Linked DNA regions of Homo sapiens: all the other regions are linked to region 1. Evidence: promoter capture Hi-C in 16 types of primary human blood cells and fetal thymus (Javierre and others, 2016). All regions are on one chromosome and are shown on one strand. Each heading gives the region's core, a stretch centred on a gene start or on the middle of the fragment in contact. The rest is flanking DNA. Distances are from core to core; before and after follow the strand shown.

Region 1 (4,435 bases), core at 235-2,734:
AAGCGATAAATACAGTCTACTTCTTATACTAATGATTATAGTCTGTGCCCCATTTTTCTGAAAGTGTTCTTAAATAGGCCCTGGACAGTTATTTAGAAGCCAAATTATTATAAAGTTGTTTAATAGTCATGAAATGGAACCCAAGGATGTAGACACTATTTAAATGCCATTAAAAATGGCATGAAGCTTTTAGCCTGATGTGTCTACCTTCACTCTAGAGGACCCTGCAACTGAGAGACAGGCCAGGGCAGCCTTCTCCCTGGACTATGTCGGGTTAGGCCGGGATCTGCCAACTTCAGCTTCTGAGTTTCCCTTTTCTTGCCTTTGGTTCCTGCGGGCCTGCTCTCCTGGGTATAAGCATCGTCTATGGATAGGGTACGGCTCATATACATGTCTGCTGATGATCTTCAAATGAAGATGCCACCCAGAATCACATAAAATGTATTTATCACTTTGTAGTAGTTCTTTATCATCATGTATCTTTTTGGACAAAGGATTCAAAGTAAAAGGGGTGAAGTTTTAAAAATATTTACGTTTTACTATTAAGAGATTGATCTCCAGTCTCAGAAAAGTGGACAGTCTCACTGTCCTAGGGTTACCATCCACCTCTTTTGTGATAATCCACCAAAGAGGTTAAAATACAATTGATTAGGTTTCCTCTAATCACATTTCAGCCCCCATATCACCTCAATTGACGTCGGAGTGTTCTCACAGTTTTGCAGTTTCCTGATTTACGAGCACAGATGGTTAATTACATCCACCATGGGTTTGACAAGCAAGGTTACTAGAAGTAATCTTAAATGTCTTCATTCAAAGCTCTTGGGAATCCCTACAGCAACGAAAATAAGGAGGGGGAAGAGATTAATTAGGTTTCTAGAAGAAAGGTGGAGTTTGAGGTGGAACTTAAAAAAAGAGCATAATTTCACAGGAAAAAAAAAACGCTTCAGGGGCTGCAGAAACAGCTAAAGCACATTTGGAGGGCCTGATGATCCACGGAGCAGCCCCTGGGATGGAAGCGGTTGGTGCAACGTGAAGTAAGGTAAACCGAATCCATGCCGTGAAGACTTTTAAACGCCAAACTGAGGCGTCGGAACTTTGCTCCGCGGGCATCGAGGAGCCATCGAAGGTTCTCAGCAGGTGAGTGGCCTAACTGGATTGGTCACTGCAGTGATCCACCTTACAATTTCTCCGGCGCTCTCTGCCGACCTCAGCCGGCGATCAGGCCGGCTTCGCAGTAGGTGGCGGCTGAGCGCCCCGGCAACCGAAGCGCCAGGCCAGCCCAGGCCACGCCGCGCCGTGCGGGATGCTGACCGTACCCAGGCGGGAGCCGCCGCGCCGCCGCCTGGCGCTGCACCTGGGCCCGGCCCGGCCGCCAATTGGACGGCTCGGGGCGACCCCGCTGTATCGCGAGACGAGATTGGCAGCGGCGGGGCCTCAAGTGCCCCCGCGCTGGCTTTGTATGCGGAGCCGCCTGCCGGTCCTTTAACAATGGGCGGCGCGAGCGTCCAGGCGCTGGGCTCTAGCTGAGGCCGGCGCTTAGCGGCCCACTGTCCGCAGCATGAGCGGGGCCGGCGTCCGCCGCACGACGGCGGGGCTGGGGCTGTGAGGGCCGCGGTTCCGGGTAAGGGAGCCAGCGTGGGGCCGGGCGGCCCGGCAGGCCTGGGGTAGGCGTGGGGCAGCGGACCCTCCCGGGGTGAGGCGCAGAGCCTGGCTGGCCCGGCCTTTTGTTCCCCTTTCTGAGGCCGCGCGGAACGTGCGTTTCTCGGGGCTCCCGGGGAGGAGCAGGCTCCCGACGTCCATGCGGAGACCCGCGGCCAGGCAGACGCTCACCCCCGGGCTTTGCCATGGGAGCGTTTCCCCTCAGCGGGGCTATGAGCGTGTCACCTCTCCCCGCTCCTCAGGGAGGGCGGGAGAACTCCAGCCCCGGACGCAGGGAGCCCCAGCCGGGCCTCCCCCAGCTCTTCCCGAGCTCGCACCTGGCTCCGCGCTTTGGCAACTCAGGGCCCGAGTGGATCCCCTTTTGCCCGACACATAGTCGAGCAGTGAGTCTCAGAGTCCTTCGGCTCTTCCTGCGGGGGCAGACCCGGCTTCGCGTGTGGCGTTGGGGGAAACGACTCGGGTCGGGCTGGGTTGAGGAAGAGTCAAGTGAAGATGAGCAGCCACACCGGGTGGCCTGAGGTCACACCCCCCGGGGAGGGGGCGCAGAGGGTCGCGGGGGAGCCGGCAGTGACCGCGCCTGGGGTGTGTCTTACAGACTCGAGTTGCCGCGTCGGGCTGGGCGCGCCGCCGGGTCCCATGGAGCTGGAGGGGCAGTGGTGGCGAGGACAGCTGGCCGCCGATATTCACCAAGCGCTTCGCTACAAGGTAACTCCGAGGCCCGGCCTGCCTTCTCCTTCTGTGTGTCGCGCCAGTTGTTCTGAATCTCGGCTCTCTAGAAGGTCTAGTCAGGTTCTTTACTCACTATCTTCCGGGCCAGAAAAGGCGAGTTTGCTCATTTGCTCAAGGTTAATTAACTTCTTGGCTCCTTCTCTGGGATGTATCAAAAGAACCTGCAACCTGAATGAGTAGGGAGATGGTAGTTGGGCCAGGGAAGGTGGAAAGGGGCGTTCTGGCTTCCAGGTGGGTCATGAATTTGATCTTGTATTTTAAAAGATATATACACTGAATTTTTGTTGGGCAGAACAGCCCTCTTTGTTCGAGAGTTGCCGTTGCATGCAGCCAGTTTAAGTCGCTTTTGTACATAAATTCCTCAGCCTTTCCGCTAACTTGCCGTGAGACGTGGACAAGTGAAATTTCTGTTTCTTGATTTCCTCATCTGTAAAATGAGGAATAATGAGTGTGCCTTATGATTCTGGCGATTGTGAAACTTAAGTTAGTACCGTACATGTGCTTAGAAACTGCTCTTGGTATATAGTAAGCACTAAGTGATAACTTCTTATCACTTACCCCTCAGGATTTGGGCTGTTCAAAAGCCCTAAAGTGGAGGGAGTTGGCTGCCCCTTCCTGCTGATATCAAAGGCAGAAAGTAGACTTAATAGATATTGGAAAAAAATACTTTTCCAACACAAAGCAAAGTCTGTGTATTGTTGCTATTAAGTAACGGTTTTACTCTGCATGTGGCAAGGCAGATTAATGAGACATTTCTGCCTCTTCGATAACCAAAAGAGAGACCAGATCCAAAATGATCTCTAGCTTAACTCAGTTTCACCTTGGATAAAGAAAGCCATTTGTTAAATGTAGAAAATTGAGAAAGAAGCAAAACAGCTGACTTTCAATAAAAAGGATTCTGACTCTTGGGGTTGAGATCCTGGAATGATAATGAACTTTTATCTTGAGTTTCTGACCAGGTCAAGTAGATTGGAAAACCTAATTCTGACTTAAATTGTTACCCTTTTCTAGGCCTGAGATTTCTAAATGCTACTTAACTAATTCTGACATTCAGTCTCTTAGATTCACTAAAATACAGTTCAGCCCCCTAGGAGATGGTTTATACCACATAAAAATTCTAACTAATGGGATCTCTGGAGTGTTAGTTAGGAAAGAGTTGCAGTTTCTTGGAAAATTGTCCAGATACACTTTTGATCTTTTTTTTTTTTGGCAGATGTCATCTTTCAATGTGAAATGTTTTCTTTTTTAAAAAAATTAATATAGTTGCACATATTTTGAAAAGTGTTTTAAGTGTCAGCCTTTTTATCCCTCTGGTATGTAGTGAAATTAATTAGTTGATATTAAGAGTACTTTTTTTTTGAGTTGGAGTTTCACCTGACCTCAGGTGATCCACCTGCCTCGGCCTCCTAAAGTGCTGGGATTACAGGCATGAGCCACTGCGCCCAGCCAAGAGTATATTTTTTAATTGGCATGAAACTTAAAAGGTTTTTCTTGGTGATTTCCATACTTTTCAATCATTTTATGTGTAGATCATTTTAATTCGTGAGTGATTATCTGCATTTTGTCAATTGAGTTTGGACATGGGTTCTTTGTTTTTTTGTTTTTTCTCCTAGATTTAGATTTGTTGAAGGCTTTTGTGGATTAGTTTCTGGAGCATCCAAGGCATAAGACCCAACCTTATACTCACTCAAGTTGCTTATGAACTATCAGAGGACAAGGTAGCACAGGGTGTGAAGGAATGCCACTGAAAGTTTTATTGGGCCACCTATGGCCTACTGCCCTGGGTTGTCTTTATGTTTAAGCATTATGCAAACCATGGTTCTTACTGGCAACACTTTATACAAGAATTTACATTAATCTGTAAAACTTAAACTTGTGGAACTGGAGAGACCACTGTTTGTAATACACTGAAGGAAACTTAAAATGGACTTTTCTCCTAGAAAAGACGTGGTAATTCCAGGCTATTAATTGGTGATTCAGTCGGATAGTCATCTGTTTTTCTTCAACATGTTGATCATTTATGACATACATGATATCATGCCAGGTG
Region 2 (4,435 bases), core at 947-3,446, 400 kb before region 1:
GAAGCCCTGGACTGCCTACCTTCTTGCAGGGCTGCTAGGCTTCCTTCAGGAGAAAGAGAGAAAAACATTTCTATCCTGTTTGAGCCATGAATATTCTGAGTTTCCTGCTACATGCACATAATTGTAACTGACACAGAAGGACAATGAGTGCATAGGCAGATGGACTGTGTGAGGCCTACATGGGAGATAAGATGCTGTCAATCAGTGGGGGGTAGAGGAGCACTTAAGCAAATAGACGTTCCTCCCTGATAGCAAGAAGCAAGACAAGGTGGGTAACATAGGTTCTCAGCAGGACTAAGCTTTAAGCAATTCCCTGGAAAGACTTTTCTATATCTCATTACAAGCAACTCATAAATATTTGAATGAATTACTAAAATTATCATTCCAAGCCACCTTTTGAACCACTGTTCTATAACTTTATTAGAGAGTTAACTACCTTCACTTGAACCACTATCACTTCCCTTTATATTGTCTGTCTATAAATTACAGACAATTTTCTCAAAATTTCTTTAGACCTTCTGACTATCTCCTGGCCGCTAACTCACTCCCTAACCACAATCTACTGATGGTGGGTAAAGCAGGCAGGACCTTATTCTCATGAATGGGAAGGCGACTATGGGTTCTCCTCCCTTCCTGCCTCCTTCACACACATATCTTAGAAAGAACATTTCTAATGAAGTAATAGTCATTTCTGCCTTTCCTTAAATAACCGTTTTTCAAGTGACTATGTTTCAGGTTTGTGGAGATATAAGAAAGATAATATGATTTTTTTTCACAACAGGCTTGGCATCTAGATCCTGGCACAGAGCTGCTTGGTAAGCCATCATCTGGGATGGAACTGGGATTCCGATGGCATTGCTGGATCCACAGGTGCACGGTCTCTTCCTGCTGTGGGAGTCCCTGGGACTAAAAGACTGGTTTGTTGTTGAGGCTAAGTTTTATGGAGTGCTACTTTCCTTCATTGGGTTAATTATTAATAATATAGGTACCCTACTCTGCTTTCAGGAATATTATCCTAAGCAATATGTACAACTAAGTCTTAAGTTTAAAAGTTGTATGCCTAATGGTTTGGTCTTACTGATCTGCCAGAGAGAAGGGTGGTGGAGGGACAGGCTTACTCCCCTAGGGTTTGGACCAGGGATCATCAGTGGCTGTTTGCAGAGCTTAGAGCTATGCCAAGTATCATGTATTATCCTTTTGGTAGCTGTCAGATCTAGGCTTTCTGGCTTTCTCTCCTGTCTGCTGGAGGGCCTATCCTGACCTGGAAGGGTGGTGAGCATGGGTGGAGCAGCCTGAGAGGGTACCTCAGGAACACAGGCAGTGGCATGCATGTCTGTCCAGGTGATCAAATGGTAGAAGCCAATCAGAATCCAGCAGCCAGGCTAGCATGAAGGAGGCTAACCCACAGTCTGTATCAGGAGAAGAGGGTGGGTCGCATGGTTCAGTGCCAGGTAGTCAAGGGTCATTCTGGCTGGAGACAATAGGGTAACAGCAGTAGATAAGGCCTGTTAGGGTTCAAGAGGAGGTCACCACTAACAACAAGGTTTCATGCAGTTGACTCAGTCAAATCCAGTAGGTTCTAGCACAAAGGAGAGCTTCAGGGGACTCAGGGCTTGTTGGGTTTCCTATTGAACAACGCCTTTTACCTTCCAAGGCTGACCCTACCTTTCTTGGGGGTATTTTTTTAATGTTCTACAATGTATTATACTTGTTAGGGTCCATATTGAAAACTGAGAAGGCCTTGATTAGTTAGGAAAATTCAAGGCTTCTAGAGAAATAATTGTTTCCCATCTTCTAAGGAACTTTTAGGCTCTAAGTTCCAAAGAAAATCTGTCCCCTCTTAGTAGGTATGAGGGCATACTGAAGTGTATGTGTGTACAGATGTGGCATGGTGGGGGATGGGAGGGGTTGTCCATGTTCTTCTTAAGGGCCACGGATTATACTCTTACCACTCTGACAGAGGAGAACCCTTTACTTCTTCAGCATCAGAATCCTTATGCCCAGTAACCAATGAGGCTGTGTTCCAGGCCTCAACAAGAAGGGACCCAGACATGACTACTCTTTTTCTCTCTGGCCTTCCATTGCCTTCTCTGTTTATCTCCACAAGCGTTCTCATTTTGCCTTTCTTTTCTTTTTTTTTCCCTCTGCTATTCTGCTTATCATGGTCAGTGAAAGAGCTCCACGTTCCAGAAAAATCCAAATCCCCAAATTCAAAAACCTAGGGAAACAATTAGAAAGTGCCTCCTTCTGTGAATGAGTCTAATGAGGATAAGTATCAATAAAAATACTGAAGTGAACACTTACTATATACCAGGAGTTGTGCTAAGTATTCATACACCTTCTACAGGAGTAAAAAGGACAAGTGTTGGCTCTGGAGCCAGACTGCCTGAGTGAAATTTCAACCCCTTCACTTACTTGCTGTCTCCTTAACTATCTCATAAGGTTGGTAGGGTGGATAAAACAAGTTCATGCATGAACAGAGATTGGCACAAAATACTCAATGAATATTAACTGGTACTGTAAAAAAAGTGTTACTTACTGTGACATGACATATATATCCATGGTCCCTGGCTTATAACTCTAATAATCCTTTTTACAGTCTTTTGTTATAATGTTGGTGTAAGGAAACAGAATCTCTCTGGTATTCTCCTGAACTCCTTTCACCTACTCAAGGCAGGACTCTAATTTGATTGTGGGTTGTAAGACCCTCAGTCCAGAGAGGGTCCTGCCCCATACCTTGGAGGAAGAAATATTGCACAGGAAGACCAAGACAAAATCTGAACAGACAGGCCTTGCTGGGTTACCCCACTCAGTCTATTAGTATCAGGTCACATTCTTTTTGTTCAATCACATTTCGACACAGTTGCCCATGCTTCAATCATGCCTATCCAATAAGTCTCCATAAGAGGTCCAAGGGGACAAGGTTCGGAGAGCTTCCAGATGGCTGAACATGTGGAGGTTCCTGGAGGGTGGCGTGCCCCGGAAGGGCATGGAAGATCTGTGCCTCTTACCACACACCTCACCCTACATATCTCTTCATCTGTTTCCTTTGTAATAAATTGGTAAATCTAAGTGTTTCCCTGAGTTCTCTGCATCACTCTAGCAAATCAATCAAGCCCAAAGAGGGTACTGTGGGAACCCCAACTTGAAGCCAGTCAGTCAGAAGTTCCAGAAGCCTGGACTCAGGACTACTAGGAAGATGGGGATGATCTTGAGGGACTGAGCCCTCAACCTGTGGGCTGTCCTCAGGGAGACAGTGTCAGAATTGAATTGGAGGATACCCAACTGATGTCCACTGCAACCCCGTACATTTGGTCACAGAAGTCTTCTGTGTTGATTGTTGTTATGGAGTGAGAGCAGAGGAAAAATAGTTTGAGCTTTTCCATATTCTACCTTCATCATCATCATCATCATCATCATCATCATCATCATCATCATCTTACTGAATTCTCATGAATTAAGCCTCATAAGTTAGGTATTATTATGAGTTCATTATTATTATTATCCCCATTTTATAAATAAGGAAACTGATGCTCAGAGTAACTGAGTAATTTACCAGCATTGCCAGATTACAAAAATGGCCACAATCCTTTTGCAGCTTCTCCATTAACAGGTGAGTCAATCTTCCAAACTTCTTAAATTTGAGCTGGCCCCGTAACTTGCTTTGACAAATGTGGCAGAAGGAACAGTGCATAAATTCTGAGTTTACATCTCAAGAGGACTTGTAGCTACCATGCTTCCTGTTCTGGGGACCCTGCAAGCATCATGCAAAGCAGCAATGAACAGCCTGCTGGAGAATGAGAAGCCACAGGGAATGTACATGATGTATCATCCCAGCAGAGGCCCCTTCATCCCCAACAATCAGCCCTAAGTCAATCTGAGACCTGACACAGACACAGAACCACTGTGCAGCTGAGCCCAGTCCAAAATACCATCCCACAGAATTGTGACCTAAACAGACAGTTGTTTTAAGCTACGAAGTTACTTCATAAGCAGAAGGGCTAGTTTTAAAAACCCAGGAACTGGTTCCAAAACCTGAACTTTCAGCCCTTATACTCTACATTAATAGGAAAGAGATTTTTCTGTCTAATGACAAGCTTGATTAGTTGATTGGCAAGTCATCTTGCAATGAAGCTTGGAAATGGACTACTGATAAGATTTAGGTGATATCAAGGAGCTAGCCAACTCAAAACATCACAAACAGCCTTTCAACAAATGATGCTGGAACAACTAGTATTAAAAGTTGAAAGATGAACATTGACCTAAACCTCACACCTTATACAAAAATTAACTCAAAATAGATCACGAAGTTGGGTGCAGTGGCTCACACCTGTAATTCCTGCAGGTTGGGAGGTCAAGGTGGGAGGATCTTTTGAGCCCAGAAGTTCGAGACCAGCCAGAGCAACATAGACTCCATTTTTACAGATTTTTTTTT
Region 3 (4,435 bases), core at 1,286-3,785, 360 kb before region 1:
AGCTTGCGGGTTGGACAGGAGACCTACATATGCCCACAATACCTGGATCTCCAGGGAAACTGGTATGAGACAGCAGGAAGTACAGTTTATAGCCTGCAGAAGGGTAAAGAAGCATCTGCTTGAATTGCCTGATGGTTGCCTATAGTCAATCACCAAGTACTAAGCCATTGTTTCTTAAGCATTATTCAGTAATAAGGAAGGCAATGTAGCTTAGTGGAAGAACACAAAAGTTCACAATAAGACTATGTTATTATTCCTGATCTTTTTTTTTTTTTTTTTTGAGACGAAGTCTCGCACTGTCACCCAGGCTGGAGTGCAGGGGCACGATCTCGGCTCACTGCAACCTTTGCCTCCCAGGTTCAAGCGATTCTCCTGCCTCAGCCTCTCAAGTAGCTGGGATTACAGGTGCCCACCACACCTAATTTTTATTTTTGTATTTTTAGTACAGACAGGGTTTCACCATGTTGGCCAGGCTGGTCTTGAACTCCTGACCTTGTGATTTGCCTGCCTTGGCCTCCCAAAGTGCTGGGATTACAGGCGAGACCCACCACACCCGACCTCTGATCTTTTTTTTTTTGAGATGGAGTCTCGCTCTGTTGCCCAGGCTGGAGTACAGTGGTGTGATTTCAGTTCACTGCAACCTCTGCCTCCTGGACTCAAGCGATTCTCCTGCCTCAGCCTCCCCAGTAGCTGGGATTACAGATGCCCACCACTACACCTGGCTAATTTTTGTATTTTTAGTAGAGACAGAGTTTCACCATGTTGGTCAGTCTGGTCTTAAACTCCTGATCTCAAGTGATCTGCCCGCCTCGGCCTTCCAAAGTGCTGGGATTACAGGTGTAAGCCATGGCACCTGGCTTCCTTGATTAATCTAAATAACAGTTACTGAGTATCTCCTATGTGTGAGCTGCTTAGTAGGCACTGGCTTGAGCAGATCATGTGGCTAAAGTAAAGGATTTGAATACAGGAGCAGTGTAAAGTCAAAGAAGATGATACGTAAGGGTTAGATTATGAAGTGCATCCAAGTAGTCTGGAAGCCATCAGAGAGCCTCGAAAGTTTCCAGAATAGAAATATGGTATACCTAATGCAGTACTCCAGGAGGATTAATTGCAAAATGCAGAAAGGCATATCATTCTATATGGTTTTGATTTTTAACCAGATAATGCATTTTCATGTAAATAATTGTAAAAATGTAAATTTTTATAATTACAATAGAAAGAGCACAATTTTAACCTCATGAAACTCTGTGCTGACCAAATATTCAAGAATATAAAATATTTGAAATATATGAGATTTTTGAACAACAGAAATCTGTAGATTATCTGCCTTCAAATTTTTTTCTAAGTAAGGAAAATACATTAGGTATTTTAAACCTAACCTGAAATAACTACTTCAGGCTGGGAACAGTGGCTTATGCCTGTAATCCCAGCACTTTGGGAGGCCAAGGCAGGAGGATCACTTGAGCCCAGGAGTTTGAGACCATCTGGACAACATACTGAGACCTTGTCTCTACAAAAAAATCAAAAAATTATCTAGGCATGCTGGCATGTGCCTGTGGTCCCAGCTACTCGAGGGGCTGAGGTGGGAGGATAGCCTGGGCCCAGAAGGTTGAGAATGCAATGAGCCATGATTGTGCCACTGCACTCCAGCCTAGGTAAGAGTTCAAGATCTTGACTTAGAAAAAAAAAAAAAGGCCAGGCGCGGTGGCTCATGCCTGTAATCCCAGCACTTTGGGAGGCCGAGGCAGGCGGATCACAAGGTCAGGAGTTCAAGACCAGCCTGGTCAATATAGTGAAACCTCATCTCTACTAAAAATACAAAAATTAGCCGGGTGTGGTGGCGGGTGCCTGCAGTCCCAGCTACTCGGGAGGCTGAGTGAGGCAGGAGAATCCCTTGAACCCGGGGGGTGGAGGTTGCAGTGAACCGAGATCATGCCACCACACTCGAGCCAGGGCAACACAGTGAGACTCCATCTCAAAAAAAAAAAGGCTTCAAGTGGGCATGATTTCTTATACTCTTCCTTCTATGACAAATGCATTATCTATGGAGACAAGGCTGGTTTTAAACTTACTATCCAAGATTTACAAAGGGGTAAAAATGAGTCTTCATCAGAAAGTATATTTCTCTCCTTACTGAAATGCTGCAGTGCCTGTTGAGGATCCTGGTCCACCCTCCTTTCTGGGCTGGGTCAGCATTACCAAAGATGGCAACATACTCTGGTCTGGGCCTTCCATGAAGAGTCTGATAAATCTCCTGCTGCAAGTGGCTGCAGTCTGCCTTCTTCAACCTATAATTAAACACCATGGAGGCTGCAGTCCAATGCTAACATAATAATATACCTATATTAGTACGGTATGTTAAACCAAACATTGGAAATAATATAAAATAGACCAGAGGGTATAATCCTTAGTAGGTATTAACAATTGCCAGAAAACTCTTAGCAATATCAACACTATTTAGACTAAAAGACTATTCCTGACTAGCATTTTCCGAACTGTCATTAAAAATATAAAAGTTACCATATCAACATATTCCCTACATATTCCCGAAATTGCAGGAAATGATGCGGAAGCAAAGAACTACCTGAGCTTGCATCCAGATATTGCATTCACTCCAAACTGCACTTCATGTCTTTTAACAGAGCAACTTCCATTACCCTGGCTCTGTAAGAGGGTCATCCAAGGTGGAAAAGTGATGATCAAGGACATCATAACAGAAAAAAAAAGGAGGCAGCATTGCAAAATTTATGTTCTCATTCTCCTTTAATGCTATTTATTTTGTATTACTATCATAATGTTCGAGTCACAAATTTGTGATTTTTTTCCTCAGAAAACCACAGAGAGACAACTAGATTCCAAAAATGATTAACCATATATTAGTATATAAGTACCTCATTATAATGAACAAAAAATTCCTCACCTTTGGCTAGTCTAACATAAGTTTGAAAGCCTTTGCAGCTTTTCTCATTAGGCTGCAACAGGCCACCCAGCTCTAAAAAGGATACTGAGTAACTTATATCATCAGTCAGAGCCAAGAGTGGCTTCCCAACTATATAGCCAGGATTCCCACTTCTAGGACTGGTGAGAGAAGCAGCTGTGCTCTGTTGAAAAGCCTGCAGAAAGAGGGAAGAGAAGTCAATTATGGAGATAAGCATACTTTCCCACCTCCCACTGCTTGGCTTCACCGTACCCTTCCTTAAGGCAAGGAAATGCAATAAGTGAGCTACACTGAACAATCTGGCTTCTTTCCACAGTGTAGCATTTTGCTTCTTTCACTTTTTTAAATTTACTAAAATAAATCCTTCATGATCTGAATATTGAAATTCATAATACGCTACTTTTACCAAGGATTACAACCAAGAATCTACTAAGGATCCCTTAAAAATTACTAGCAATTTAGCAATAATAACACAGCCTGGTTAAAATCTGAAAAATTTAAATGTAATTAAAAAATATATATTTTAATTAACTACAGATGTTCCAGAGATGAGCTCTGAGAGACACAGCAGTTGGTTGATCACCTGAGGGTAGAGTTGAGAAAATCTATGCTGGGTTCAAAAAGAGGAAAGAAGTAGCAGAAAGCCAAATGGCAGTGATTAAGAGTGAACACTCAGATTAAGTGGGAAATGAGTAAAATGCTGACTGCCCAGAAATATGAGAACAGCTAGTTAAAGAATTTTTGTAGGTGTTGGCTGAATTTATGATTCAAAATGACTATAAAAAAAGTTTTGATTTTAGATTGAAGTCCTGCTTTGTTGGGGGCCAGACAGAGAATTGGAGAAAATTTTAATGAGTAAAGACTTGTAGAATAACCACAACTTGTAGTAAAATTATGGAATATTAAATGTTGAGGCCTCAATCGACAGACTGAACTAGGCCTTCATATTCTTATTCTATTTCACATGTATTACAGAAGCAAAGAAATTATTTCTAACCCAATATTTCTTCCCCTCTAAATCCCCTATAAGAGAAGGGCCCTAACCCTGAAGCGAAGGATGAAGTGTTGCTGTAAGGAAGCGCCTGGCTCAACAGTCAGGTTGGTTTGTCCCAAACTGACAGAAACTTTCTGGATTCCAAAAGTCCCATTGGTCTCTATCTCATAGGTGACCTGAAATGCAAAAAGAATCAATTAATAAAAAGTAGTTATTGGGCCGAATATGTTTAGGACAGAAGATTTTCTGTCTTCAAGGGTGTTATTATAACTAAATGAGGCAGACTGAAACAGTAATGTTAAAAATGCCAAACACAAATACTATGAAAGATAAAGATGATTTCATATTATATTTGTATATGAAAAAGAAACTGGATAGAGCTCTTTAAAAGGGTTCACGGGTAGGTGAGTTTTTGGTAGGAACTGAAAGGGAAGAAAAATAAGTTGATTACGGACAGAGGAGGGCAAGTAGAAACAGGCAGAGGTGAGCATGGAACAGAAATC
Region 4 (4,435 bases), core at 1,054-3,553, 340 kb before region 1:
TGCCCAGGGCCACCTCAAGGGAGTCCCACCGGCAAGATGGCTCTCACCAGGTATGCCTCTTTGACTTTGGACTTCCCAGGCTTCATAACTGTAAGAAATCAATTTTTTTCTTTATAAATTACCCATTTTTAGGTATTCTGTTATAAGCAACAGAAAATGGACTAAGATACACACCTTGTCAAACTCCACATCTACCATTTTCTTCTTCAAAAACCCTGCAGGTGGAATGCAATAAGCAGATCCCGCCTGTGCATAGGCTAACAGGGAATCTCAGTTACCAAGGTGGACACACACTCAAAAGATCTACATTTGAAAAAGAAAAAACCCAGCAAACAAAAAAAGGGTATAATATTCAAGAAACATCAAAACCCAAGGCCGAGTACAGTGGCTCACACCTGTTATCCTAGCATTTGGGAAGCAGAAGCAGGAGGATCGCTTGAGCCAGGGAGGTTGAGGCTGCAGTGAGCCATGATCACACCAGTGCACTCTGCCCTGGGTGACAAAGTCTCTTAAGTAAAGGAAAAAGGAAAAAAAAATTTAAAAAGGACAAGTTAGAAAAATAGTTTAGAACAAATATAATTAACATTTATAGAGAGACATGAGAATTTTGCATCTATTAGAGAGGAATCAACTAGGAATTGTGATTAAAGATGGAAGAAAAATGCACATTTGGGCCAAGTGTGGTGGCTCATGCCTATAATCCCAGCAATTTGGGAGGCTGAGGCAGGGTGATTGCCTAAGTTCAGGAGTTAAAGACCAGCTTGGGCAACATGGTGAAACCCTGTCTCTACAAAAAATAAAAATTAGCCAGGTGTGGTAGTGCACACCTGTAGTTCCAGCTACCCAGGAGGCTGAGGTGGGAGGATCACTTGAGCCCAAGAGGTTGAGGCTGCAGTGAGCCTTGATTGTGCCACTGCACTCCAGCCTGGGTGACAGAGCAAAATCCTGTCCAAAAAAAAAGAAAGAGAGAGATTGAGAGAGAGAAAGAGAGAAGAAAAGAAAGGAGGTAAGAAGGAAAGAAAGATGCACATTTGACCCCTCTTTTGAAATTTTATTAAAATACCTGTTAAAAGACTTAAAAGGGTATATATTTATAAAAACAAAAAGTAGGAGGTGTGGTTGACCATCAGCATGGTCAGTATGGAAGATTTTTCATACATTTTTGAAGAAATTGGAAGGATATTGACTGAAGAAGCAGCAGCCTAGAATATCCATGGAAAGGGACTGCAGCCAAAGGAGACAGCTGCCTTCCAGCAGAATACCACAGAGTAGCCAGAACTAGCGATAGCAAGTAAGAGAGAAGATAAAAGGTAAAGTTGATGGAAATCAAGAAAATACATCGAAGGTCTATATGGTATATGGAATAGTTTGCCTTTGTACTCAAAAGGACCTATAACTAGATATTTTCTTTGAGGAAAAAATAGAGAATTCTTTCTAGAAATTGATACACTAGTTAATATAAGAGAGATTTGAGAAGTAATCAATAAAACATTCATGAGAGCAGAATATTTGGCAAAGGAGCAATCAGAATAAGAGAAAGCTCTTGGAAATTAAAACTATTAACTTTTTTGTTTAAAATTTTGGAAGATAAATATAAGGACATCTAATCTATTGAACAAAAAGATAAATAAATAGAAAATATGAGACACTGAGGATTAAATCTACAAGTCCAATGTTTGATTAATATGAGTTCCAGGAAAAAAAAAGAAAATGGAAGAATTAAATTGGTTAAGGAAATATTAGGAACTCACACCTGTAGTCTCAGCACTTTGAGAGGCTGAAGCAGGAGGATCGCTTGAGGCTGGAGGATCACTTGAGGCCAGGAGTTTGAGACCAACCTGGGCAACATAGTGAGACTCCGTTCCTACAAGAAATGAAAAAAAATACCTGGGCATGGTGGCACGTGCCTATAGTCCTAGCTGCACAAGAGGCTGAGTTGGGAAGATCGCTTGCACCCAGGAAATTGAGGTTATAGTGACCTGTGATCACAGCACTGCACTCCAGCCTGGACAATAGAGCAAATCTCTGTCTCTATTAAAAAGAAAAGAAAATGGAAAAACAATAAAACAAATAAGTCCAAATATATAAATAATTACAATAAATATGAATAAGTTTAATTCATCTATTAAGAAGTATATTCTTTTTTTTTTTTTTGAGACCAAGTTTCGCTCTTGTTGCCCAGGCTGGAGTGCAGTGGCATGATCTCGGCTCACTGCAGCCTCCACCTCCCTGGCTCAAGCAATTCTCCTGCCTCAGCTTCCCAAGTAGCTGGGATTATAGGTGCCCACCACCACGCCTGGCTAATGTTTTGTATTTTTAGTAGAGATGAGGTTTTGCCATGTTGGCCAGGCTGGTCTCGAACTCCTGGCCTCAGGTGATCTGCCCGCCTCAGCCTCCCAAAGTGCTGGGATTACAGGCCTGAGCCACCGTGCCCAGCCAGAAATAAAATCTTAATAGGCAAATGCTAATAAGGAGGAAACAGATGTGGTAATAGTAATGACAGTCAAAATAGAATTCCAGCCTAGTGCAGTGGCTTGTGCCTATAATTTCAGCTACTCAGGAAGGGAAGTTGAAGCAGAAGGACTGCTTGAGACCAGGAGTTCAAGACCAGCCGGGCAACATAGTGAGACCTTATCTCTAAAAATATAAAGATAAAAATAAAATTCTAAGTGAATTATATTTGAGGGCAATATATATTTCATCTTTATAAAAGTTACAGACTACCTAGAAGATGTTAAATTAATGAATCCTTGTGGATCTAAAGACATTGTTTTAAAATATAAAAGCAAATAAGTAGTGGAAAGAGTAGACTAGGTAAATCCACCATCAGAGTAAAAGATTTTTATCATACCTCTTCCATAAATAGATAGATTAAATAATAAAAATAGAGAAAAAGATTTAAATAAGTGATTTTAAAATTCTCAATTTATCTATAGATGGTGTAGAACTTGAACCTAATAAGCAAATAGTACTAATTATTTTCAATCATACTTGGAGCATTGACAAAAATTGACCATGTATTATGCCACAAAGGGAATCTCAATGAAGAGAAAAAAGGCAAAGATTTTATAGTACATTCTGCTTGCCACAATGCATTAAAATTAGAAATTAACATAAAAGGACAGCAAAATATCCTCTTGGAAATTAAGGGAAAAAATCACATTTTTGAATAAATCTTGAGTTAAAAGAAAATAAACACAAAAATTACAAACTAATTAAAAATGAAAGTTAAACAACTAGAATACATAGAACAAAGCCAATAGAACTTAGAGAACTTTTATATTTTCAAGTACTTTTATTTTTTAAAAAGAAATATTTAAAATAATCCTAAACTTAATCTTACAATTTAGTAAGCAAACAAATTACAAATTAAAAGATAAAGAAGAGAATTCATAAAGATAATAGAGGAAATTAAAAATTAAAAACAAATAAAAAATCAGTAGAGTAATTGATAAAACCAATAGCTGGTTATGTGAAAAGATAAACAGACAAATGTTTAGAAGATCAAATTAAAAAACACAAATTAATAATATTAGGTCCCAATAAGAGGTCATAACAATTGGTATAGACTTAAAATATATATATGATTAATATACATTCAGTAAAATAGCTGACAAGATGGAGAATTTCACCAGAGACTGAAACCTATGAAAATGCATCAAATGTAAATCCTAGAACTGAAAAGTACAATAATGGAAATTGAGAACTCTTAGATTGGTTTAACAGTGGATTAAACACAGCAGAGGGCAGGATTAGTGAACTGAAAAACTAGATTATTTGTTAAGATCTAGTATAAAACATGGGAAAATGTGTTGAAAATTCAGAAAAGAATGTAAGAGACAATGTGGGGAGAGTGGTAGAAATACTGATATGTAATTGGGCCCCAGAAGGAAAGGAGAGAGATAATGGGGTAGACACAGCAATATATTAGGATATTTTGGCTGAATATTTTCCCAAATAAATGAATGTTATCAATCTGTAGATTCCAGCTCTACAAAACCCAAACAAGATAAATTTAAAAGAAAATAATACATGGGGATATCTTACTCAAATCCCAAACATTGACAAAGAGAAAATCTTTAAAATGTATAGCTTAAAAAGACATATTACCTTCAAAACAGCAACAATAACACCTGACTTTTCTTGAAACAGAGTCTCACTCTGTCGCCCATGCTGGAGTGCAATGGTGCGATCTCGGTTCACTGCAAACTCCGCCTCTGGGTTCACACAATTCTCTGCCTCAGCCTCCAGAGTAGCTGGGAATGACAGGCACCTGCCACCACGCCAGGCTAAATTTTTTTTTTTATTTTTAGTAGAGATGGGGTTTCACCATCTTGGCCAGGCTGGTTTTGAATTCCTCACCTCGTGATCCACCCGCCTCGGGCTCCCAAAGTGCTGGGATTACAGGTGTGAGCCACCGCGCCCGGCCTACACC
Region 5 (4,435 bases), core at 1,291-3,790, 290 kb after region 1:
CTAACACTCTCATGAGAAAGAGTCTCCCAAGTGCTACCTAGAAATAGCAAGTCATCTTGCCCCAAAGTTAGACTCAGCCTCCAGCCACAACGCTTTTGGCTGGTTAAACCTGGTCATCAGTATAATATGAAGGGACACTGTCTTTGTCCATTTACCTTGCTATAAAGGAACACCTGAGGCTGGGTAATTTATAAAGAAAAGACGTTTACTTGGCCCATGGTTCTGCAGGATGTATAAGAAGCACGACACCAAGCATCTGCTTCTGGTGCGGCCTCAGGGGGCTTACACTCATGGCAGAAGGCAAGGAAGAGCTGGCAGGTGCCGAGGTCACAGGGTGAGAGAGAAAGCAAGACAGAGTGGGGAGGGGCCAGGCTCTTTGTAACCCCCAGCTTTCACGGGAGCTAACAAAGTGAGAACTCACTCATTACCATGAGGATGAGGACGGCACAAGTCATTCATGAGAGATCTTCCCCTATGACCCAAAGACCTCCCATTAGGCCCCACCTCCAACATTGGGGATCAAATTTCTACGTGAGATTTAGGGGGACAAACATCCAAACTATAGCAGACACTAACTCAAAGCTGCTCCCCAGAAACAATATGATTTTTTAAGTTTTATTATTTATTTATTTCTGAGACAGGGTCTTGCTCTGTCTCCCAGGCTAGTGTGCACTGGTGTGATTACAGCTTACTGAAGCCTCAACCTCCCAGGCTCCAGGGATCCTTCCACCTCAGCCTCCTGAGTAGCTGGGACTATAGACACGTGCCATCATACCTGGCTAATTTTAAAATTTTATGTAGAAATGAGGTCTTATTATGTCACCCAGGCTGGTCTCAAATTCCTGCAGCGTGGCTTTTTGTTTATGGTTGGTTTGTTTTTAAAGGACTGAGGAGAGCCCAGAGCACTAGCTGAGGTTCAGAAGTGGAGAGGGAGATTTTCTTGCAGTTTTGCCATTAAGTGGCTTTGCTTCAGCCTCTCTCATCGCTAAATTCCTTTTCCGTAAAGGGAAGATAATGCAACCACTTTCTTAGTGTTTTCTCCTAGTGTTTGCAGGTGGGCCTTTAATGCAAGGCCAAACACATGTCCATGTTCTGCTCGAATCTGAAAAGATTTCATTAAGAATCCAGTGTTAAATCATAGATCTTCTTCATCAGGGCCTTTTCCTGATGCCATTCTGTTTCTTTTCAGGGATTACTTTTATATTATGACCTTGTGGAGTCAACATTTGAAAAGCTCAGGTTGCCTAGCAGGAAGGTTGATGCTTTGGATCATTTTCAAAAGTGCTTTCTGATTTTCAAATTGCCTCGTCAAAGAGTGGACAGTGACCAGTCCAGCTGGCAGGAAGGAAAGACCTGGAAGGCCATCCGTGTGGATTTAGTTCTGTGCCCCTACGAGCGTCGTGCCTTTGCCCTGTTGGGATGGACTGGCTCCCGGGTAAGTGCTACATGGACCCATGGGATGATGTTAGCTTTCTGAAAGACGTAGGCCGAGTCTACCTGGGCCCAGGGGAGAGATGACGGCAACAGGGGCTGGGTGACAGGGGAGGGGCCAGTACCCAGAAACCTCTAACTCAAGGCATCCTGTCCACACATGGCCAAGTATGACAGATTAATTTAGAACAGTTATTCCCAGTGTGTGGTCCCCAACACCAGCAGCAGCAACCTTACCCAGGAACAGGTTAGACATGGAAATTCTTCACCCCACTCCAAACCTATGGAATCAAATCAGCATCTCTGGGGATTTCAGCCCGGAAATTTGTTTGGAAAAGGCTTCTAGGTGTTTCTGATGCAGCTCAAGTAGGAGAACCACTGAAGTACAGAAACCAGCAAGGGGATTGAAATAGGAAACAATTAATAAAGTGGAGAGGCAACTCACAGATTGGGAAAAAATATCTGCACATCATACATCACATAAGGGCCATTATCCAGCATATACAAGGAAACCAAAAGACTCAATAACAAGAAAACAAATAATCCTATTTAAAAATGGGCAAAGGACTTGAATAGATATTTCTCAAAAGAAGACATATAAATGGCAAGCAGATATTGCCATCTTGCTTAACATCTCTAATCATCAGAGAAATGCAAATTAAAACCACAATAAGATGTTATCTCACATCCGTCAGATTGGCTATTATCAAAAACATGAAAGACAGCAGGTGTTAGTGAGGCTGTGGAGAAAAGGGAACCCTCTTGTATTGTTGGTGGTGTTGTAAATTACACATTTTGGAAAATAGTATGGAAGTTCCTCAAAAAACTAAAAACAGGGCTACCATATGATCCAGCAATCTTACTTCTGGGTATATAGCCAAAGGAAATGAACTCAGTATGTCAAAGAGAGGTCTGCACTCCCGTGTTCATTGCAGCATGATACACCATAGCCAAGATATTATATAAAAACAACCTAAGCATCCACAGCAGATGAATGGATTTTTAAAATGTAGTATATGCACAGTGGAGTATGACACAGCCTTTCGAAAACAGGACATTCTGTCATTTGAGACAACATGGTTGAACCTAGAGGACATTATGTTAAGTGGAATAAGTCAGGCACAGAGAGACAAATACTGTATGATCTCGTTTCTGTATATGTAGAATCTAAAACAGTCAAACTCGTAGAAGTACAGAATAGAATGTAGAATGGTGGTTAGCAGAGGCTGGGGGATGAGGACAGAAAATGGACAGGGAAAAGGGTCAACAAGTACAAAGTTCCAGTCAGACAGGTGGAATAAACTCTGTTCTATTGCACAGTATGGTGACTATAGTTAATAAAAGTGTATATTTCAAAGTAGCTAAAAGAGAGGATTTTTAATGTTCTTACCACAAAGAAATGGTAGAAGTTTGAGGTGATGGACATGCTAATTAGTCTGATTTTATCATTCTGCAATGTATATAGATGTATCAAAATATCATATTATAACCCACAAATGCATACAATTATTATATGTTAATTAAAAATAAAATCAAGCTATAAAATTTTTCTGAAAGAGCACAAGTTGAGTTCATCCCAGACCTGGTTGCAAGCTCCTGCACTGCTTCTTACTGTTGGGTGATCTTGGACAAGTTCTCTATATCCTGTAAAACTCAATTTTCCCGTCAGGAAAATGAGGACGATGACCTTAGCTACTTCCCTGAGTTGCAGAGACATTAGGTGACATGATGTTCTCAAAGCCTCAGCACCAAGCCAGCACGTGGCCAGTACTGGATAAGTAGTAGCTTCCATATCCTGTCACTCACAGGAGAGGACACCTGTGATTTGAGTCCCATTCGCATGTGTTCCACCCTCCCAACTAAACACCTCACCCTGTTTCTCCTGTTTTCCCAGGTAGCTGGTTGTTGCTTTGAGTGAAATGGGTTCGTAGAGGGTTTTTTATACAGATGAATGACACAACACAAATTAATTGTTCTCAGCCGTGGGTTAAATGTCAGGTGTCTTTGCTTTGGACTGGAATTAATTCAGCACAGCATCTTAGCACTGGGATTTCTTACTCTAATCACAAATGTTGACTGACAACTAAATGCTTTTTTCATTCCTAAAAAAAGGGGAAGAAAAGAAAAAATATATCATAAATGCAACTTGTCTGATAGACATAAATCTTTGGGAACACATAGTTGATTGAGAAAGGGGAACGTTCCAGAAAGAAGTCCTTGGTTATGCAATGTCATGCCAGTTAAGCATCACTGGCTGAAGTGGTTGACATTTGCCCATTTTATTTTTAAGATGGACATGTTTTCAACACATTCTAGTCTGTTTCCTCAGAGTACTCAGAAATTGTTGCTGTTGGTTCTGCAAGGCACTGGCAGAGCACTAAGCTCTTTTGCTTTTTAGCTGGGTGACTTTAAACAAATAAAGGACTTCTGATTGCAAAGTCCATCTCCTCAACCATCCCGGGTGAGCTTTCCTAAAATAGCAAATTGTTCCTTACCACTAGAGGGCACCAGTATCCCAGGCTTGCTCCCTACTCCCACATGAAGAGGACAAAATTTCTAGATTGTGTTTCTCTCAGGAAAACTAGTCTCCATGACAATTCGTTGCCCTCCTTTCCCAAGGTGTTCCTGTCCTCTGTCTTAGGCTTCATGTATTGCTCCCTTCAGTCTCAGAGCCCATTCCTGACTGTGGGAGATGTCATCCAGGAGCAGTTGACTTAGACGATCAGTTTCATGGCATCTCAGTGTGAAAGGATGTTAAAGCCAGAGGGAGTCTTAATCATGTCCTTCCTCCATCCTTTCATTCACTCAACCAAGACTCAGGGAGTCTGGATGACTTGACAGGAGATGCACAGCCAGGTAGGGACAAAGTCCAGGCTGGAACGGGTTCCCTGACTCCTCCATCCTCTTTTACAATAACAATATTCCAAATCATGTAACACCCACCAAACTAGTATTTATCCAGCATTTACTCTGGACCAGGCATTATCCTGGTAGAACGCTCACG

What was found. The method cuts DNA at HindIII sites, captures the fragments that hold promoters and counts their contacts. A CHiCAGO score of 5 or more calls a contact.
Region 2: a contact is called between a fragment that was not itself captured here and the fragment with the promoter of CCNJ in region 1, in 1 of 17 cell types (activated CD4 T cells). The highest score is 5.4, in activated CD4 T cells.
Region 3: a contact is called between a fragment that was not itself captured here and the fragment with the promoter of CCNJ in region 1, in 2 of 17 cell types (naive CD8 T cells and activated CD4 T cells). The highest score is 7.1, in naive CD8 T cells.
Region 4: a fragment that was not itself captured here is called in contact with the fragment with the promoter of CCNJ in region 1 in 1 of 17 cell types (total CD4 T cells); the score reaches 5.0 in total CD4 T cells.
Region 5: a contact is called between a fragment that was not itself captured here and the fragment with the promoter of CCNJ in region 1, in 1 of 17 cell types (fetal thymus). The highest score is 7.5, in fetal thymus.

What each region holds. Positions count from the first base shown.
Region 1 is chr10:96,042,099-96,046,533 of GRCh38, forward strand. CCNJ (cyclin J) reads left to right here and starts at 1,485. Exons shown (of 6, transcript NM_001134375.2): 1 at 1,485-1,621; 2 at 2,255-2,364. The coding sequence starts at 2,296. All of the region lies in intron 2 of ENTPD1-AS1 (ENTPD1 antisense RNA 1), which reads right to left. RefSeq lists silencers at 874-1,068, 1,196-1,765. The HindIII fragment of the contact is 7,328 bases long and covers 185-4,435 here.
Region 2 is chr10:95,644,926-95,649,360 of GRCh38, forward strand. All of the region lies in intron 2 of ALDH18A1 (aldehyde dehydrogenase 18 family member A1), which reads right to left. Among named protein-coding and RNA genes, the nearest start is that of ALDH18A1, 9.6 kb to the right of the region's middle. The HindIII fragment of the contact is 3,798 bases long and covers 298-4,095 here.
Region 3 is chr10:95,680,517-95,684,951 of GRCh38, forward strand. TCTN3 (tectonic family member 3) reads right to left here. Exons shown (of 14, transcript NM_015631.6): 9 at 3,983-4,108; 10 at 3,006-3,113; 11 at 2,585-2,679; 12 at 2,135-2,288; 13 at 1-93. Among named protein-coding and RNA genes, the nearest start is that of TCTN3, 11 kb to the right of the region's middle. The HindIII fragment of the contact is 8,509 bases long and covers 1-4,435 here.
Region 4 is chr10:95,698,656-95,703,090 of GRCh38, forward strand. It overlaps a transcript of ENTPD1 not described here. Among named protein-coding and RNA genes, the nearest start is that of TCTN3, 6.9 kb to the left of the region's middle. The HindIII fragment of the contact is 7,434 bases long and covers 1-4,435 here.
Region 5 is chr10:96,331,162-96,335,596 of GRCh38, forward strand. It overlaps DNTT (DNA nucleotidylexotransferase), which reads left to right. Exons shown (of 11, transcript NM_004088.4): 9 at 1,190-1,435. Among named protein-coding and RNA genes, the nearest start is that of OPALIN, 26 kb to the right of the region's middle. The HindIII fragment of the contact is 8,239 bases long and covers 1-4,435 here.